Regions from separate parts of the Homo sapiens genome. Here region 2 is linked to region 1. Evidence: promoter capture Hi-C in human tissues and cell types (Jung and others, 2019). All regions are on one chromosome and are shown on one strand. The core of a region is centred on a gene start or on the middle of the fragment in contact, and the rest is flanking DNA. Distances in the headings are between cores, read along the strand shown. Region 1 holds the start of GSTA4 (glutathione S-transferase alpha 4). Region 2 overlaps PAQR8 (progestin and adipoQ receptor family member 8).

Evidence for each region. Contacts are between HindIII fragments. The study calls those that stand out against the background at their distance.
Region 2: a fragment that was not itself captured here is called in contact with the fragment with the promoter of GSTA4 in region 1 in 1 of the 25 tissues and cell types used here (lymphoblastoid cells).

What each region holds. Positions count from the first base shown.
Region 1 is chr6:52,993,961-52,997,309 of GRCh38, reverse strand. It overlaps GSTA4 (glutathione S-transferase alpha 4), which reads left to right and starts at 2,026. Exons shown (of 7, transcript NM_001512.4): 1 at 2,026-2,061; 2 at 3,049-3,153. The coding sequence starts at 3,067. It overlaps RN7SK (RNA component of 7SK nuclear ribonucleoprotein), which reads right to left and starts at 1,690; the gene lies at 1,359-1,690. RefSeq lists silencers at 1,453-1,542, 1,874-2,105 and an enhancer at 1,703-1,922. The HindIII fragment of the contact is 14,338 bases long and covers 1-3,349 here.
Region 2 is chr6:52,398,293-52,401,636 of GRCh38, reverse strand. The region is part of intron 1 of PAQR8 (progestin and adipoQ receptor family member 8); the gene reads right to left. Among named protein-coding and RNA genes, the nearest start is that of EFHC1, 20 kb to the left of the region's middle. RefSeq lists an enhancer at 3,089-3,148. The HindIII fragment of the contact is 6,274 bases long and covers 1-3,344 here.

The sequences.
Region 1 (3,349 bases), core at 777-3,276:
AGGATGTACAAAAGGAAAACCAAAAGCGCAAAAATCCTCGATCTCGTGGAATTTACATTCTAGGAATCTACAGACAAATAAATAAAAAAGTCCTGTTAGATGACAATACATGTTATTAAAAAAAAGACAAGAAGTGTGTGTGTGTGTGTGTGTGTGTGTGTGTGTGTGTGTGTGTGTGTGTGTGTGTGTTGGACAGGGCATCATTCTAGACTTTTCTTCCTCCTCCCTTCCCTTTGATCTGATTAGCAATTGCTTTACCACCTACCTCCTTAGTATTTCACCTTTTCTTACTCATATTCTTCAAACTCATGGTGCTACTTTAATTTACACAGACACAAGAGGTTTCTTTCTCTACCCCTACTACCCCAATTCATTCGCCTCACTTTGGCCAGAGAAACCTATTGAAAATAAAATCTGATCATGTTAGCGGCTGCAATTGTTCAGCACCCAGGCTTGTCAAGCAAGGTACTCTCGAGCGCCCCCGTGGGTGAAGAAAATAACAACATCTATAGCCTGAGAAATAGCAGAAGCTGCCTCTAAAAACAAAATTTATTTTCGAAGGCATATATTTCAAACTTTGAAATCCATGTGAATTTTGCAATTGTTCCATAATATAGCCCTGATAGTTTTAATATATTTTTAATGTTTTAACTAACTTGCCAGCCAAATTATTCTTTTAGCACCACCCCCAACTCCAAAGACCCCCTTCCAAACAGGTGCTGACTTGAGACCGTGACTATAGAGCACTTGTCTCTAAAATGTACAAAATGAAGAGAAATCTCAAGATGTCCCACTGAGATGAAGAAAGAAAGAAGAAAATATGTATGTTTGTATACATGTATACATGTATATATATGTATACACAAAATTAGAAAAGTTAGGGTCTACTGTATAAATTAAATAAGCGTTGACAGTGCTTTTGATTTTAATCTGTATGTGGTACTTTGCCTGCTTAACACCCTTATGTGGATTTCCTGACGGACTTGACATTCCTGTCAGGAAAGCATTGCGTACTTGCTGATTAAAAAGCATCTAAGGGCCGGGAGCGGTGGCTCACGCCTGCAATCCCAGCACGAGGCAGGAGGATCACCTGACGTCAGGAGTTCAAGACCACCCTGGTCAACATGGCGAAACCCCGTCTTTACTAAAAATAGAAAAATTAGCCGGGCATGGTGGCGCGCGCCTGTAATCCCAGCTACTCGGGAGGCTGAGTCAGGAGAATCGCTTGAACCCGGGAGGTGGAGGTTACAGTGAGCCGAGATCCGTCTCAAAAATAAAAAATAAATAATGAAAAAAATTAAAAATTTAAAAATTAAAAAACATTTAAAAAAGCATCTAACTTAGATGGGTAATGGGTCAAAAGAAAGGCAGACTGCCACATGCAGCGCCTCATTTGGATGTGTCTGGAGTCTTGGAAGCTTGACTACCCTACGTTCTCCTACAAATGGACCTTGAGAGCTTGTTTGGAGGTTCTAGCAGGGGAGCGCAGCTACTCGTATACCCTTGACCGAAGACCGGTCCTCCTCTATCGGGGATGGTCGTCCTCTTCGACCGAGCGCGCAGCTTCGGGAGGGACGCACATGGAGCGGTGAGGGAGGAAGGGGACACCCGCCTAGCCAGCCAGATCAGCCGAATCAACCCTGGCGATCAATGGGGTGACAGATGTCGCAGCCAGATCGCCCTCACATCCGAGGTACCCAAGCGGCGCACAAGCTATATAAACCTGAAGGAAGTCTCAACTTTACACTTAGGTCAAGTTGCTTATCGTACTAGAGCTTCAGCAGGAAATTTAACTAAAATCTAATTTAACCAGCATAGCAAATATCATTTATTCCCAAAATGCTAAAGTTTGAGATAAACGGACTTGATTTCCGGCTGTTTTGACACTATCCAGAATGCCTTGCAGATGGGTGGGGCATGCTAAATACTGCAGTCTCCATTGGTGAGGTCGTCCCGGAGCCTCGCCCAGCTCCCGCGCGCTAGAGCCGCCTGCTGGTCTCACCCAGCCGGGACCGCTGACCTGGCGCTTTGTGCGGCTCCAGGCCTCCGAGTGGACTCCAGGTCTGTCTCCCTCCTGCGGTCGCCCCCTTCCTCGCCCTTTCTCTCTTCTTTTTTTTCCCTCCCCTTTACTCTCTGAGTCTCACTCTCGCATTCTTCCCTCACTCCCCCAGTTCAGTCCTTCTCTTGTCTTTTCTTCCTCTTGTCCTTTGTCCTCCTGCTCCATCCAGTCTGGGCAGAGGTGGGCCCCTTGGCTGGAGCTGGGGTCCTTCTTGGCTCAGTGTGCGTATTTTTTTTTAAACCCCTTCTGCGGAGTCTGAATGCATTGGTGGAAGGTGGGCTCGGATCGTCCCCGGGCCTGGCTGGGCTGCCGCTACGCCCCTGCATGGGCTGAGCGGGGAAGACGAGCATGGGAGAGTGCGATCTCAGATGGCCAAGCCCTGGCCCCCGGCTCGTTTTACAAGGCCGGGGGCTCATCTCCCTGTAGGGGTGGTGGACACGCGGGACCCGGGGGGCGCAGCCACCGCATGCGTGACGGTGGACGCACATTTTGCAGACAGTAGTAGTACTCGGCCTGTTCACCTTCCAGTTGCCGTGATAATAAAATATGATGATGTATGTAAAAGCATGAATACTTGAAGAGCTTCCAGTGGCTGTGCGATTTTCCTTCGCTACCCTCTTCAACGCCTGCCACCCCCTATCCCCCAGCTGAATTTGGAAAATCTGAGATTCTCGAGGTCAAAATATATAATATTCTGAATTTGTGAAATCCCGTACTGCTAGCACATATGTTTTTACAACAAATGGCCCCAGCTTCCCAAGATCCAGGATAAGAAGTCATAAATAGAAATCATATAAAAGCCAAGGTTTTTTTCTCCATGTTTTAAAATGGTGGTTTTTTTTTCTTGAGTGAGGGAAAATGCAGCAACAAAAATAAAGAACAGTTTCCCGTGCCAAAATCCTGAATATTCATTTCGCCCCTGAGCACTGGGTTGAAGACGCGAAATTGGGACTGTTGGTCTGCGACGAGCTGCTGCATTTGTATTTCAGAAAGCCTGAAAAGCTATCATGGCAGCAAGGCCCAAGCTCCACTATCCCAACGGAAGAGGCCGGATGGAGTCCGTGAGATGGGTTTTAGCTGCCGCCGGAGTCGAGGTACCTTATATGCTGTTTCTTCACGGATTTGTCATACAGCTTTTGAGACCTTTGAAAGAAAAATACGTTTTGAAGCACCGTTCAGTTCTAGTTCTCGTCCACCAAAATCACAGGCACGCTTCACTGAGTCAGATACCATCCCTGAAGGGATTTTTCTTTATAATTAGAACGTAGTTGATGGAATTCTATTTTCCTT
Region 2 (3,344 bases), core at 353-2,852, 600 kb after region 1:
CATAAAATCTCATTGCAAAGACTGTTGTTCATTTTTTAAATTATGCTCTGAAAAGCAAGTAGTTTTAGATTTGCTTCTCTTGGGTAATTAAAACTGCACTCGGTGAATTTCAGGCTTCAGAAATGCTTAACTTACACTTGTATTTCTCAGTGACAGACGAATACAGCAATTATTTCATAAAATATTTCATGAAACTGCTGCAAAATTTCATCTGAAGTTGCTAGGTAAAGAAATAGATTTTGATCATTTCTAGTTACCTTATGTAATTATGTTTCCCAAGCTTTTTTCTTCAGAAAAATTTAATATCTGATTTATCTAAATGGAGCACATACAGCAAGCACATACAGCAAGTACTGGAGCACATACAGCAAGTACTGTTCAAGGTGCTTACTAATTTTAGCAAAGAAAATGTAATTCCTACTCATACGTCTCAATCAATATTGGAAGAGAAAAAATACCTAATCAGGTAAAAAAGTGTAGGGCATGAAAATTAATAAAATGTAAAGAAGTTCAGGGAGACCTGGAGTCAAGCTCCAGTTTTGCCACTTACTGGGGTGACCTTGGGCAAGTTATAGAATTCTCTCAGCCTCAGTTTCTTCATAATTCTATATATTATATGGGTTGTGTGATAGTTAAATGAGAGGGTCTAAAAAATGAAGTGCTTAGCACTCTGCCCAGCCCAAGGTAAGTGCGTAGTAAATGTGAAATATTGCTGTCATTTTTATTGCTATGAGCTGGGCTCTGTGCTAGGTACTAGGTACTAGGGATACAAAGACTGGTAAGATACACTTCCTGCCTTCAAAGAGATCAAAGTTTACTGGGGAGACAGACATGTAGGGGAATCAACACAAAAATGTGCAATAAGTGCTCCATTAGAGACAAACACTGGTTCACAGAGGTCTCAGCAAACAACCAAAACAGGGAAAGGATGGGGGTATAGCCCTCTTGAAGTGACCCTGAACTGAATCTTGAAGGAAAAATCAGAATTCCTGAGAAAAGATAAAGGCGGAAGAGACTTCTAGGCAGAGAGCAAGGTCAAAGAACTTCTGCCAAGATATGGGCTTGGAAAGCCTGGAGTATCTGAAGTCATTGTAGTTTGCAGTTATGACATTGGTGCCAGAGAGACCTGAACTCACATCCTGAGCCCCACCATCAACAAGCTGCATGAATCCAGCCTGAGCTTTGTTATCTGTGGAGTAAATGACAGAGAAGCTGCCTTACAGGGCTGAAAAAGAACTATATGACATAATGGCTGTAAAGTGTTTAACAAAGTGCTTGGTTCCAAGTCTGCATAACTACTTGCCATTATTATGACCATCACTGATATGAGATGCAGGAATCATTCATGAGTTCAGGGCCTAATGTCCCCTCCATACCTTGAACCTATTTCTATGGCAGCCCCTGTAACCCTGTATTGAGGCATTCATTTAGCCAGCACCCATCAGACAGTGGTCTTCTACCAGGAATGGGCTATGAACTCAAGCTCAATGTAGGAATTAAAGACACCAAGAGAAGTGTATTAAGGATTACAGTCAGCCAGAAAGAGAAACACAGAAAGAGGGAGTGTGGGAGAGAGAAAGAAAATGCTAATTAGAATACCTGAATTCATTTGAAAACAAAAAGAAAAGAAAAAGCTAAGTGGTGCTTCTGCTATCAGCCAGCAGAGGGATCCGAGTGCCTTAGAGTTCAGTTCTGGATGGAAGTTTCTCCAACTGACCTTGGTGGACGAACTACAGGAATGGGCCTGGGATGTGGGATAACTTCTCAAGTTGCCCTGTTGCTGTTAGCAACATATAATCTGGGGGTGCTGGGCTTGTTGGAGTTCTGGGGAATTAAAGTGCTCTATTCTTTAGATATAGTCTTCTACTACCTCTTGTGAAGTAGAGAGCAAACCAGATGAAATTACCAGTCTGATTTTATGGCTGGGAGAAATCAAGGTGAGTCACTGGGTATAACCCCAGTGACTATAGAAGAAGGAATCCCCAAAGATGCTCCCAGTATCCCTGTCTGCATGCTGTCTAAAATCAAGGCTATTTCTCTCATCTTTGGGAACCCAAACCAATCAGACGATTCCTGCATCCAGAGTTAAATAATATATAACCACACAATTCCTACTAATCTTCATATCCTTAAAATAGCGTATCCATCACATAGCAGGTTCTTATAAACTGACAACTCAACTGAATTTCTAAAGACTAAAACTTTGGGTTTTAGTAGTTTAGCGATTGGAAGAGAGCACAATTCAGACCTGGGAACTAACTGGCATCTGTCTGTTCTGAGGGAGAAAGGACGGAACATGATACTGCCTTATTATTGGTCTGCAGAAGACCATGACTGCAGAGCTCTGACAGTTCCTTCTATTTCTCATATCACCAGCCTCCCTCATGACTTTATGTTGACAAGTTATTTTCTGGAAATTATTTCTACTTCACTCTTTCAGAAAATAAACTAGGAAGAGATTTATAGAACTAAGAAGCAGAGAGGTACAAGTCCAAAGGGATATTAACTTTAACTTCAAAAGAAAAGGTGCACAAGGGGAGAGAAATTGGCAGAATCATCATTTCCCTTACAAATGAGATCTTTAAAATGCAGCCACAGAGATCTCAGGGTCTTCTTAATAACTCCACCCCCTGGAGTGTGTAACCCAATAGCCACAAAGGAACCTGAGAGTCCAGGGATACAACCACCATAGGCTCTAACTCAGAATATGATTCCTTACCTCTCAGGAATGAGAGGGTTGCAAAGATCTGTCCTCTGAGGGTAAAAAGGGCTTAAATTTCCCAGCCAGGGACAGTGGCTCACGCCTGTAAATCCCAGCACTTTGGGAGGCTGAGGTGGGTGGACTGCTTGAGGTCAGGAGTTCGGGACCACCCTGACCAACATGCTGAAACACCATCTCTACTAAAAATACAAAAATTAGCTGGGCATGGTGGCCGGTGCCTGTAATCCCAGCTACTAGGGAGGCTGAGGCAGGAGAATCACTTGAACCCAGGAGGAGGAGGTTGCAGTGAGCCGAGATCGTGCCACTGCACTCCAGCCTGGGTGACAAAGCGAGACTTCATCTCAAAAACAACAACAAGAAAGGACTTAAATTTCCCTTTGGTAGTGCAAGGTCATGAAAAATTCTAAGGTCACGCATGGTGGCTCACACCTGTAATCCCAGCACTTTGGGAGGCTGAGGTGGGCAGATCACCTGAGGTCAGAAGTTCAAGACCAGCCTGGCCAATATAGTGAAACCCCGTCACTACTAAAAATACAAAAAATTAGCTGGGTGTGTTAGCAGGCTCCTGTAATCCCAACTACTCAGAAGGCTGAGGCAGGAGAATCACTTGAACCAGAGAGGT